3 separate regions of the Homo sapiens genome follow, and all the other regions are linked to region 2. The links are contacts of gene promoters, found by promoter capture Hi-C in blood cells and fetal thymus (Javierre and others, 2016). All regions are on one chromosome and are shown on one strand. Each heading gives the region's core, a stretch centred on a gene start or on the middle of the fragment in contact. The rest is flanking DNA. Distances are from core to core; before and after follow the strand shown.

What was found. Contacts are between HindIII fragments. The CHiCAGO score rates a contact against its expected background, and 5 or more counts as called.
Region 1: a fragment that was not itself captured here is called in contact with the fragment with the promoter of TMC4 in region 2 in 1 of 17 cell types (neutrophils); the score reaches 5.5 in neutrophils.
Region 3: a fragment that was not itself captured here is called in contact with the fragment with the promoter of TMC4 in region 2 in 1 of 17 cell types (neutrophils); the score reaches 5.5 in neutrophils.

What each region holds. Positions count from the first base shown.
Region 1 is chr19:54,286,716-54,290,842 of GRCh38, forward strand. No RefSeq gene overlaps it. Among named protein-coding and RNA genes, the nearest start is that of MIR4752, 6.7 kb to the left of the region's middle. The HindIII fragment of the contact is 1,292 bases long and covers 1,265-2,556 here.
Region 2 is chr19:54,170,853-54,175,225 of GRCh38, forward strand. TMC4 (transmembrane channel like 4) reads right to left here and starts at 2,308. Exons shown (of 15, transcript NM_144686.4): 1 at 2,187-2,308; 2 at 1,018-1,231. The coding sequence starts at 2,265. MBOAT7 (membrane bound acylglycerophosphatidylinositol O-acyltransferase MBOAT7) reads right to left here. Exons shown (of 8, transcript NM_024298.5): 8 at 2,563-3,579. The coding sequence ends at 3,192. RefSeq lists enhancers at 2,431-3,247, 3,248-4,063. The HindIII fragment of the contact is 9,651 bases long and covers 1-2,736 here.
Region 3 is chr19:54,266,122-54,270,843 of GRCh38, forward strand. It overlaps the pseudogene LOC100420187. Among named protein-coding and RNA genes, the nearest start is that of LILRB5, 11 kb to the left of the region's middle. RefSeq lists a silencer at 1-288. The HindIII fragment of the contact is 544 bases long and covers 2,302-2,845 here.

The DNA of each region.
Region 1 (4,127 bases), core at 661-3,160, 120 kb after region 2:
TGTGGGCAAGCCGGGGGTTCCAGCTCTGCCCAGGGGTGTTCCCTCGCCCCTGTGGAACAGGAAGCTCAGGGCACCTGACACTCCACGGTCCAGCCCTTCCCCTGAAACAAGAGTCAGCACCTCACAGGAAACACACCAGGTCCACATCCACCTGCTTGTGCCGAGCGTGGCTCTTACCCTTAAGCACCAGCTCCTGGCCTGCAATCTGAGCTGCACAGCCCAATGCAAACCCTGCTGCAGAAGCTCCCAAAGCCATGGGAAAAGCCAAAAGACCCTTCCCAACATGCTCTACAGTCACCCTCCCTGCGGGGCTGGGGGAAAATGTGCAAAAGAAATCCCATCCAAACGAAAATAAATTCGAAGAGAGTAAGTGGAGGCCTCTCCAGATGAGAAGGAATCAGTGTAAGGATTCTGACGCCGTGAAAAATCTGAATATTGTGGCACCACCAAAGGATCGCACTGGCTCGCTAGTGATGGATGCTGAAAACAATGGAAACTCTGAAAGGACAGATAAAGAATGAGACTGACACAAAAACATTACAAAGAATCAATGAAAGAAAACGTTGGTTTTTTGAAAGTATAAATAAAATTGAGAGATGGCTGACTACACTAACCAAAAAAAGGAGATTTAAATAAGCACAATCAGAAATGATAAAGTTGACATTACAACCAACACCACAGAGATACAAAAGATCATCAGAGACTACTATGAACACCTTTATGCACATAAACTAGAAAACCTGGAGAAAATAGATGAATTCCTAGACACACACAACTTCCCAAGATTGCACAGGCAAAAAATAGAAACTCTAAACAGACCGATAACAACCAATGAAAAAGGATCAGTACTAAAAATCTTCCAGCAAAAAAGTCCAGGAACAGATGGATTCGCAGTTGAACTTAGCTGTATGTACGAAGGAGGGCTGGTACCAATCATACTGAAAGTATTCCAAAAATCAAGGAAGTGGGATTCTTTGCCAGCTCATTTTACAAAATCAGTATCATCCTGATAGCAAAATCAGACAAGGATCCAACAGAAAAATAAAACTACAGGCCAAGAAATCTGAGGAACACAGATGCAAAAATCCTCAAGAAAATACTAGCAAACGGAATCTAACAGTGTATCAAAAACATAATTCATCATGATCAAGTTGGCTTGATTCCAGGGAAGAAAGGATGGTTCAATATATGCAAGTCAATAAAAGTGACTCATGACATGAACTAAGAACAAAAAGCATATGATCATCTCTATAGATGCAGATAAAGCTTTCAAGAAAGTCCAACATCGCTTCGTGATAAAATCCCTCAACAGGCTAGGCATGAAAGAAACATACCGCAAAATACCAACACCCCCTGCGTGACAAACCCACAGCCAACATCAAATTGAATGGGGAGAAGTGAAAACATTTTCCCAGGAAAATGAGAATGGGATCCTCCCTAGCCCCTGGGGTCTCCTACTGGACCAGGGCCTATCTGTGGGGCAGGGTCCCTCTCATGCTAGAATCTCCCTTTCCCCTCGTCAAATCTCAGTGAAGTGGACCATGGCCATGGGAGTGACAGTCATGGCACAGAGAGGCAGGGCTCTCCTGTAGCAGGACGAGCCGCAGACAAAACTCCTCAGACACCGGATTAAAGAAGGAAGAGGTTTTTATTCAGCTGGGAGCGTGGGCAGACTCGCGTCTTAAGAGCCGAACTCCCCGAAAAAGAAATTCTTGGCCTTTTTAAAGGCTTATAACTTTAAGGGGTCCACGTGAAAGGGTCGTGATACATCAAGCAAGCGTGGGAAACATGACTGTGGGGGGCTATATGCATCAGCTAACAGAACAAAAAGTTTTACAGTGCTTTTTTCATGCAGTGTCTGGAATTTACAGATAACACCAGTAGTTTAGGTCAGGGGTTGATGTTATTATTATTACTTTTTTTAACTCCTACGGCCGGGTGGTGGTGCCAAGGTTGTCTGGCTATTTATCTTACTTTTGTATTTTTCCAACTTTTGGCTTTTTCTCTCTTCCTGTTTTGTGAACTAGGCAAGGTGGGGGGAGGAGGGCAGCAGGAGTAGTAGTGGTCTCCTTCCTTACTCCCACTTACAGGATTTTCCCACCAGCATCTCCATGGGTGGTGAGCTGTCCCGGACCCCGCTGGCTCATGTTTTCCCAGGACTTGGCCTTTCTCGAATGCTTTATCTGCATCGCTTGAGATTATCACATGCTTTTTGTTCTTAGTTTATGTCGTGAGTCACCTTTATTGACTTGCATATATTGAACCATCCTTTGAGACAGGCACCAGGCTTTCTGCTGATATTTCAGACACGCATGGCATCTCTCCTGATCTCCTTTCACTGTCTGCCTGACATGTCCTCGTCTCATTGAGGGCCGGGACGTAGCTGCAAATGGACGTGGTGCCTTCCTGAGTTGGTCCCTTCCAGGTGAAGGCAACGGAGGGTTCTTCCTTCCTCTCAGAGACTCCTCGTGGGGTTTCCCTCTCTCCTTCAGCTCACCCATAAACACACCCTTGTGGGGAACCTACCATGGCCAGTCTTCTCACCAGTCCTGGGGAAGCTTCAGGGAAGATGCAAATTCAGGCTGCGGGGCAGACTCACATCAGCAGAGACTCATCTCGCATCTTGCTGTGCAGTTCCAGTTGAGCTTTATTGTGGCGATGAACAGAAAAGGGAAATACATGGAGACAAGGGAAGGAATCATGACTCTTTCCCCAGAACTGGAGTGTGGGTTTTCTTTATGCAAAAACGTTCCCTTCACGAACTTCTCATTCACTCATCGCAACAGCATCTGCCCCCGTCTCCCTGGAAACAACATTGACCTGACTCTGCCTTCTTGGTGCCCCTGTCTTCTTTCAAACACTCCTGTTCCCATCCTGTGCTCCTGAGTTCAAGGTTCTGGGACAATACGTGGGGTTAGCACTCTGCTTTGAGGGGAAATCTTGTCTTTATTTAAATATTCATGTGTCACCCCCTGCCTGTGTGACCTTGGGCAGTAACCTCCCATTTCTGAGCCTCGGTTTCCTCATTTGGAGCCTGTGATGAACCCCATTTATCACAGGGGAGCTGGGTCATTGGAGCCTGGGGACTGCAGGGGGCTCAGCCATGGGTAATTTCCAGAGCAGGTGAAGACAGGAGGGGTGGGGGCATGAAGGGATGCTGGCGCCCACCATCAAGGCCTGAGATTGATGTTTCCACTAAGGAGAGCCCCTTTGTTCCTGCCCTTGAGAGATGCTTCTCATAATATTTCATCAACACCCCCGTTATCACAGTCATGTCCAGAAAATGAGAAATGAAAGCTTGTCAGAAGGAGAAGCGCCTGCATTAAAGAGAAAATTAAAACTGACAGAGCATTTGTGTCTGGTGCCATTGGGGTCTTCAGGGAGGAAGTAATTAAGTCACTAGTGTGCATACATTTAAGCATGAAATGCAAATCTTTTTTTTTTTTTTTTCGAGACAGAGTCTCACTCTGTCGCCCAGGCTGGAGTGCAGTGGCACAATCTCAGCTCACCGCAACCTCCACCTCCCGCGTTCAAACGATTCTCCTGTCTCAGCCTCCCGAGTAGCTGGCACTACAAGCACGCACCACCACACCCGGCTAATTTTTGTATTTTTAGTAAAGATGGGGCTTCACCACGTTGGCCAGGCTGGTCTCAAACTCCTGCCCTCACCTGATCCGCCTGCCTCCGCCTCCCAAAGTGCTGGGATTACAGGGGTGGGCCACCGCGCCTGGCCAAAATGCAAATCTTGACCTCTCATGATAAACTGAAAAATAGGAGTAAATTAAAAAATACATATGCTAGACTGAATTATGTAATTTAAAATGCATTTTTGTGTTTTGTGATTTTCAACTCAACATGTCAATAGCATTGCTTCTCAGTGGGACTGGACTTCCCGATAGTAAAAAGATAAGGGAAGGAGATGCTAAGAGAGTACTCTCAGGGGACTAACTGCAAGTGAGGAATTCTATACTTACTCAGGTTAATACCTGAAAGGTAAAGGGGTCAGCAGGGGACCAATTCCTAAACAGAAGAAGGCTCAGGGCAAGACGGACCTGTGAAGCTGTCTGGTTGGGCTTCCCCTTCGTGAGGGCTGAGGAGGGATTGGAGGGTGGATCTCTCAAATCATC
Region 2 (4,373 bases), core at 1,058-3,557:
ATGTTATATAGATAGCTGTTCTTTTAACTTGTATTATTTTTTGTCATATTGTTACTTTGATTATTACTTTTAAAAAATAGAGATGGGGGTCTCGCTATGTTACTCAGGCCGCAGTATAGTGGCTATATTCACAGGCATGATCCCACTACTGATCGGTGTGGGAGTGTTGATACATTGTTATTTTTTATTGTTTTTTCCATATATATACACATATATATACATATATATGTGTATATATATACACACATATGCATATATATACGCATATATATTTGAGATGGAGTCCCGCTCTATCACCCAGGCCGGAGTCCAATGGCACGATCTTGGCTCACTGCAACCTCTATCTCCCTGGTTCAAGCGATTCTCCTGCTTCAGCCTCCCGAGTAGCTGGGATTACAGGCACCCGCCACCACACCCAGCTAATGTTTGTATTTTTAGTAGAGTTGGGGTTTTGCCATGTTGGCCAGGCTGGTCTCGAACTCCTGACCACAGGTGATCCACTCGCCTGGGCCTCCCAAAGTGCTGGGATTACAGGTGTGAGCCACTGCAATGGGCCCATAATCATTTTTGAAGGAGGGCACCTGCATTTTCATTGTTCACCAGGCCCTGCAAATTATGCAGTGAGAATGGGAAAAGAAAGAAGTTAAAGAGAGGGAGGCTTGGAAGAGGAGGCAAAGATGAAGGAAGGTATAAAGCAGAGAGAAATAAATATTAACAGATTTTGGACACACACACAGAGAGAAACTGAGGCAGAGACAGGATTGGTGGAGACCAGGGAGACGGCAAATCCCAGAGAGAAGAGACCCCAGAGCCATCGAAAGGCAGCACTCACCTGGAGTCCGAAGTAGAGACAAAGATGAGGGGAAGAAAGAAACCAAGAGAGGCAGCTCTGAGCGGGGCAGAGAGAGGCCCCAGAAGCCAGGAGCGGCAGAGGACAGAGGGAGGAGACCGAGTCCAGGGTATGGGAGAAGGGCCCGGTCCGGGCTGTGCGGGTCCCAGCTGGAGGTGGGGCCTCACCTGTGTGCCCGTCTGGCCTGCATGGGCCAGGGCAGTTCCCGGGAAGGGTGAGGGTCCTGCAGCTCTGTCTGGGTGACTTCTGTGAAGGCCTTTCTGCTCCTTCCTCCATCCTCCTCCTCCTCCTCCAGCGCCCCCCAAGGCAGCACCCCAGGGTCTCGGTACCGAAGGGTGGCAGCACTGGGCAGCTCGTTCAGCACAGAAGACAGCGATGGGCCTGGGGAGGAGCAGGGGGCTGGGAAGACCCGGGAGTCTGGGCCCTAATTCCTCCTCCCTCAGACCAGGAAACCAGGTCCCCGGCCCCTCCTCCCTCAGACCCAGGAGTCCAGGCCCCCGGCTCCTCCTCCCTCAGACCCAGGAGTCCAGGCCCCCGGCTCCTCCTCCCTCAGACCCAGGAGTCCAGGCCCCCGGCTCCTCCTCCCTCAGACCCAGGAGTCCAGGCCCCCGGCTCCTCCTCCCTCAGACCCAGGAGTCCAGGCCCCCGGCTCCTCCTCCCTCAGACCCAGGAGTCCAGGCCCCCGGCTCCTCCTCCCTCAGACCCAGGAGAACAGGCCCCCGGCGCCTCCTCCCTCAGACCCAGGAGTCCAGGCCCCCGGCTCCTCCTCCCTCAGACCCAGGAGAACAGGCCCCCGGCCCCTCCTCCCTCAGACCCAGGAGTCCAGGCCCCCGGCTCCTCCTCCCTCAGACATAGGAATCCAGGCACCCAGCCCCTCCTCCCTCAGACCAGGAAACCAGGTTCCCAGCCCCTCCTCCCTCAGGCCCAGGAGTCCGGGTGCCAGCCTCTACTTCCCCTGGACCCAGGGGTCCACAGCCCTCAACTCCATCCCCAAGCGTGGAACCCTCCTACTCCAGGGCAGTGGAGTCCAGGCTTTAACTTCCTTTTCCCTCTAGCTCAGGAGTGTGGGAACCCAGCCTCTCCTATTCCCAAGACACCCAAACTCCCAGCCCTTAGCCCTCCCCTCCTCCCAGACTAGCCTGGTTCTCCAGGCTCCTCCTCCTCAGACCCTGGAGTTCCAGCCTCCAGTTCCCTTCTCCCCCATAATATCAGGAAGTGGAACCTTCTCTCTTTAGCCCTCAGACTCAGGAGGCCAGGCCTCCCCTTTCCTCCTCCAGCAGGACTCCCACCTAGCCTGAAGGTCGGATGGATCTGAGCTTCTCCTGGCATTCCCTACCTCCTCTGGCCTCCCGGGGGGCCAGCCACTCCCTAGAGGAGCCCCAGGCTTCTGATTCCAAGGTCGGGTTTTCTTCCATGGCCCCAGGCTGGGCTGTCTCTAGTGGCCACCAGGCAGACACTGCCCCAGGTAAGGGAGGGGCCAGGGGCAGGTGTGTACCTGGCCAGCAGGTGGCCCGGAGGGAGTAAGGTACACTTCCTGTGGTTTCTCAGGGCCGCTGATGCGAAAGGTCTCCTGGGAGCTGAAGTCCCCGTGGTGCCCCGGGCCTCACAGTTTGGTTCCTGGGCTGGGCGGGGGGGCTGTACCTCACCCTGGGACTTGGTGGACTAAGTCCTTCCCACCGTTTATCACCCAGATACCTGCACGGACACGATGCCTTTGTGCAACACTTTATTGGGAAAGATTTACACACGGTGACCTGTCATAGGCCAAGCGATGAGAAGAGGGCGCCAGGAGTGCTGGGGTCCCGAGGTGGCTCAGATGGAAGCCATGGGACGGCCGTCCCCAGGCCCGCGCACCCGCACCTCAGTTTCCCCTTTGTGAAATGGGAAGCTTATGCTTCCTTCCAAGTCTGCAATATTGGTGCGATGAGCTAAAAGTGGAGCGAAAGACACAAGGAAGAGGCTTCCCACTCCCAGGACCTGCCCCCAAGCTCCGACCCCACATTGTGGATGCAAAGAAAGGGAATTTGCCCAAAACCCACTGCCCAGGGGCCCCTTCCGTTTTGGGGAAGTGCAGTGCTCTCTGGATACCCAGAAGCTGGAGCAGGGGCCAGTGACTCTTGTCTGGACAATACTTTGATTTTGTAGGAGTGGAGGTGGCCTCTGGGCAGAGGGCAGGGAGGACACCCCCGGGTCTGCTTCAGTTGCAGGCAGGGTATTTAGCTGGGGAAGAGGAAATTCTCTCCAGGACCCTCTCCAAGGTAAGGACTCTTTCTGGGGAGGAGACAGCAGCCTGGTTCACAGAATTCCCGGGACCAGCTGGCAGAGGGAGCGTCGTGACAGCTTACTCCTCCCGGAGCTTCTCCGGGGCAAGGCTGGTGGGCTGGGATGCTGCCTTCCGCCGGCTGGGGCTGCCCCCACCTAAAGCCAGCCCCAGCCCCAGGGCTGCCAGGGCCAGGAAGTGGATACAGAAGTAGATGGAGGCCCAGTACCGAAGGGTGTCGGCCAAGGAGAGCAGCACGAAGCCCATGCACATGTAGTCATAGGCGCGCATCTTCAGGAACCAGTGCACCCAGTCCCAGGCCTTCTGGCCCCCTGGGCTCAGCCGCCCCCGCAGGGCTGACTCCAGCCGGCCCTCGGCAGCCAGGCACAGCGGGATGGTCAGGAAGCTCAGGTAGTAGCCCGGGTGGAGGCCGTGCCAGTAGGCGCTCAGCAGCATGGTCCAGGCGCTCCTGAGGAGGAGGCTGGGAGTCAGGACCTACGAGTCCAGGTCCCCAGTGCCCACTGCCCCCAGATCCAGGAGTCCAGGACCCCAGCCCCTCCTCCCTCAGACCGAGAAGTGCAGGCCCAGCCCCTCCTCCCTCAGACCCAGGAGTCCAGACCCCACCCCTTCCTCCCTCAGACCCAGGAGATCAGGCCCCAGTCCCTCCTCCCTCAGACCCAGGAGACCAGACCCCACCTCCCTCCTCCCTCAGATCCAGGAGTCCAGACCCCACTTCCCTCCTCCCTCAGATCCAGGAGACCAGACCCCACCTCCCTCCTCCCTCAGATCCAGGAGACCAGGCCCCAGGCCCTCCCCACTCAGACCCATGACCCTAGCTCCGGAAGGCGGAGGAGGCTACAGGCCTCTGTCTCCTTCAGGGATCCAGGAGCTCGCAGCCTTCCATACACACTCAGTCCTATCAAGACCCTCTTCTTCTTTAAAGATTTAACATTTTATATTCCACTGCCCTTCCTCTCCCAGGACCAACAAGTCTTAATTCTTCAGCCCAGTGGTTTTTTTTTTTTTTTTTTGAGACAGAGTCTCGCTCTGTCGCCCAGGCTAGAGTGCAGTGGCGCGATCTTGGCTCACTGCAAGCTCCGCCTCCCAGGTTCACGCCATTCTCCTGCCTCAGCCTCCCGAGTAGCTGGGACTACAGGCGCCTGCCACCACGCCCGGCTAATTTTCTTTTCTATTTTTAGTAGAGACGGGGTTTCACCGTGTTAGCCAGGATGGTCTCGATCTCCTGACCTCGTGATCTGCCCG
Region 3 (4,722 bases), core at 1,324-3,823, 96 kb after region 2:
GAGAATAAGTCATGGGTTATTTCGTTTAAACAAGTCAGACATTCTGAGTGCTCACAGACCCCTGCGAGGAGCTCCGTCAAACCCATTTTCAGCACAAGCATCCTTCAGACTAAGGAAGGTTTGCTGCCCCCTCGTGGGTGGAATGTGTTCCATGGCATCAAGTTACTACCAGGCATCACATCCAGACCTCTCTGCTGGTCACAGGTGAGACTTTCAGCTACAGTGGTGGCTACGTGGTCCTTGGTGAGAGGGAGTCACTGGTGTTGGGTTCATGCATGTCCTCCTTTCTTGCTCCATGGCTATCCCATTCACGGGCCCCTCCTGCTTGCATTGGGCCTGCTGACCCCACAGCTGGATGGATTCCACTGCATCAATTCTGTACTCCACCTGGTGCCTCCCCCAGCTGTGGACTGCTCTTGCTTGCTTCTCAGGGATAGGCTCATGGTAGGGAGTATAAATTTCTCCTGTCCTCACCCAGCCTCAGTCTTGGACAATTTCTATATGAGTGGGCCTTGAGGGTGGAGCTTGCTCAGTGTTTGTGTCCTTCTTCCCCTTGGCAGCTGGATTGTACTTGGTAGCTTTGGTTGACTTGGGCAGGAATTTCCTGTCCCTTCCCTGACATTTGTATATCTGGGATTATGGTTTCAGGAATTTTCTGCAGTACTCCTAGGGATAGAGGGACTTTTAAATCTACCTTCTTATATCCACAATGGGTTTTTACCTGGGGCCTGAGATTGGCTGGTTTTTCTGAACCTCTCTCAATGACTTCAGTCTTTTTCTACACATGGGAGAAGTATCTGGGCAGGGGGTGAGATTTCAGGCCACACACTGTGGAAGGTAATCATGTCTGATCACAAATTTTGGGTCTCCACCTTACTTCCAATCTATGTTGTGAATGCCCAGTTGAGACCCACGGAAAAGAGCTCATGGGTGAGTGTGAAGTGCTTCTCTGTCTTAAGTTCCCAGAGATCCTTGCCTCTTGGAGGCCAGCAAACACTAACTCTTGAGGAATTCATGACAATATCATCTGATTCCTCCTTCCCAGCTTGTATGGCAGTCTCCCACCCTCATGTGTTCTGCCTTTGTAGAGCCTGTCATGGCATCCTACTCCTCCTTGGAATTCAGGTTACTCAGTTGCTCCCAGAGCTCGGATTTCTGATGGTCTCAGGTGAAATCTACATTATGGAGTTGATCTGAGTTTTACTCATGGTTAGGATTGCAGAGAAGCTCTTTTTTTGGAGTGGGGGAGGGAGGGGGAGGGATGGAGTTTCGCTTTTGTTGCCCAGGCTGGAGTGCAATGGCGTGTTCTTGGCTCACTACAACCTCTGCCTCCTGGGTTCAAGTGATTCTCCTGCCTCAGCCTCCCCAGTAGCTGGGATTACGGGCATGTGCCACCATGCCCAGCTTTTTTTTTGTATTTTTAGTAGAGAGAGGGTTTCACTATGTTTTCCAGGCTCGTCTCAAACTCCTGACCTCAGGCAATCCACCCACCTCAGCCTCCCAAAATGCTGGGATTACAGGTGTGAGCCACCGCACCCAGCTAGTGAAACTCTTTCCAGCTCCCCAAACCCTGGGCAGAAGCCGGGATATGAATTATTTATTTACTTACTGAGTTATGTGACATAACTCACACCATATGAAATGCACCATTTTTTAGTGTACAAATAAATGGATTTTAGTGTCTTCACTATGCTGTGCAATCACCATCCCTACCTCATCCCACAGCATTTCCATCACCTCAGAAAGAACCCCCAAGTAGTCAGTCCTAGTTCTTCCCTTCCCTCAGCCTTAAGAAATCACTAGTCTACTCTCAGTTTCTATGGCTTTGTCTATTCTGGATATTTCATGTGCATAAAATCACACCAAATACACGTCCTTTTGTAGCTGTTGATGGAAAAGAAGTGGTTACCATGAAGGAACTGAAGTTTTCCAAAGACAAAATTATAATGTGGCCTGACAGAAGAAGTACAGAAATTGATAACAAAAACAAATCCATCACAACTTATCATGAATCTGGTCATGCCATTATTGCATATTACACAAAAGATGAAATGTCTATCAACAAAGCTACAATCATGCCACAGGGGCCAACATTTGGACCTGTGTCCCCATTACCTGGTGATGACAGATGGAATGAAACCAGAGCCCAGCTGCTTGCACAAATGGACATTAGTATGGGAGCAAGAGTGGCAGAGGAGCTTATATTTGGAATTGACCATATTACAACAGGTGCTTCCAGTGATTTTGCTAATGCCACTAAAATGGCAAAGCAGATGGTTATCAAATTTGGAATTAGCGAAAAGCTTGGAGTTATGACCTACAGTGACACAGGGAAACTAAGTCCAGAAACTCAATCTGCTATTGAACATGAAATAAGAACCATTCTAAGGGACTCATATAAATGAGCAAAACTTATTCAAAATTCAAATAATTGTATGACATGGTTATAACAAAACACCTTCCTACCCCATCCATAGTATTTATTTAGATGAACAAATTTTCTCAGTCCTGTATCTATACAAATGAAAACTAGATATAGTATTGACGTTTAGCTCTGTTTCAGTCTAGGAATAAGTAATATTTACCAGTGGACTTGTGAACAATTAATAACCATAATCAAGAAGTATTTTTAAAACATTTAGCATCTTAAATTTATATAGTAGAGATGGATAGGGTGATCCATGAAAGATGTTTAATTATATAATTATTACATTTCGCTAAAAACTTGTTGGTGATGTTGAATGGAAAATCAAGTCAAAAATAAAGAAGAATGATGCAAACCTTAAAAAAAATGAGCAAAACTTATCTTGAAAAGTCATGCAGAGGAGCATAAGAATCTAGCAGAAGCTTTATTGACCTATGAGACTTTAGGTGCCAAAGAGATTCAAATTGTTCTTCAGGGGAAAAAGTTGGAAGTGAGATGAGAACTCTCTTGATGTGGATGCTTTGCTGGTTTTATTGCAAGAATATAAGTAGCATTGCAGTAGTCTCCTTTTGCAATGCTTTCTCCTCATTATTGACGTTGTGTAATTTAAGGGTGTGAAACATTTTGTCAATATTTTGTCACGTTTACCCAATTTTGGTTATTCTCATTATGACACCCATTGCAAATCAGCATCCCATGGCAAATATATTTTTAAAACTAAAGAACTATCAGGATTAAAGACAGCTCATTTGGGAAATGTCAATTAGTTATGAAGTTGAAAGTAACTAATGATTTTATGGTTGGTTACTCTACTAGAGGTGAATAAAACTTCAGCCTTTAGCCTTCTATATACATCAGTGGAAACTTAATTAAGATGCATTAATTATGTTCCAGATTGACCATCAATAAAATGTTTTTAAATCTAAATGTAGAGAATTGTAAGCATACAGTTGCAACCCGAATTTAAATGATTATAACCTTTTGGCATGGTGTGATGGCTCACGCCTCTAATCCCAGCACTTTGGGAGGCTGAGGCGAGTGGAAGGCTTGAGTCTAGGAGTTCGAGACCAGCCTGGCCTACACGGCGAAACCCTGTCTCTACTAAAATTAAAAAAAATAGCCTCCTGTGGTGGTGCACAACTGTAATCCCAGCTACTCAGAAGGCTGAGGCACAAAAATTTGCTTGAACTGGTTGCAGTGAGCCAAGATCTCACAACTCCACTCTAGCCTGGGCGACAGAGTGAAACTTTGTCTCAGTAAATAAATAAATAAATAAATAATTGTAACCTTTTAAAAATAAAAAAACCCAAACAAATATATGTCCTTTTTTTGTCATTATTCATGATAGCTAAATAGTGAAAACAACCCAAATGTCCATCAATTGGTGAATGCATAAACCAAATGTGATATAGGCATAGAATGGAATATTCTTCAACAGTAGAAAGGAACAAAGACCAATTACATGCTCTAGCGTGCAGAGACCACGAAAACATTTTGCTATGTGCAATTGGATTTTTGCCATTTTGTTGTTGTTTTTAATGTAGTACATTTATTTTAATTTATTATTTTTTTAAAAAAAATTCAATAGCTTTTGGGGAACAGGTGGTGTTTGGTTACGTGGATAAGCTCTTTAGTGGTGATTTTTGAGATTTTGGTGCATTCATCACCCGAGCAGTGTACACTGCACCCAATGTGTAGTCTTTTATCGCTCATCCCCCTCCCATTGTTCCCTGTGAGTCCCCAGATTCCATTATATCCTTCTTATGCCTTTGCATCCTCATAGTTTAGCTCCCACTTATGAGACCATATGATGTTTGGTTTTCCATTTCTGAATTACTTCACTTGGAATAATGGTCTCCAACTGCATCTAGGTTGCTGCGAATGCCATTATTTTGTCCCTTTTTGTGGCTGAGTAGTATTCCGTGCTGTGTGTGTGTATATACACACATACACATACATGTTTTTCATATGTTTGTGGACCGTTCGTATATCTTCTTTTGAGAGTTGTCACAAAGGGAATTGGATTTGGAGGGAACAATTTTATGGCCATTTTTCAGTATAATCATCGGGTGAAGACAGTGTCTGTTCGGCCAGTGTCGCTTTAATCCATTACCTGTAGCCAGGAAGGGAGACGTTTATCGCAGAGATAGGCACCAACCTGGAATGCTTTCCTCAAAGGCGATTAACTGTAGTGTGAACCCGAAATTTCACCGCAGTTTGGTCCTGATTTGGCACAAGATATGCTTTATCCACTGATGTGAAATGTCCAGGTGTTTTTTTGTACGGTTTTGTTGCTG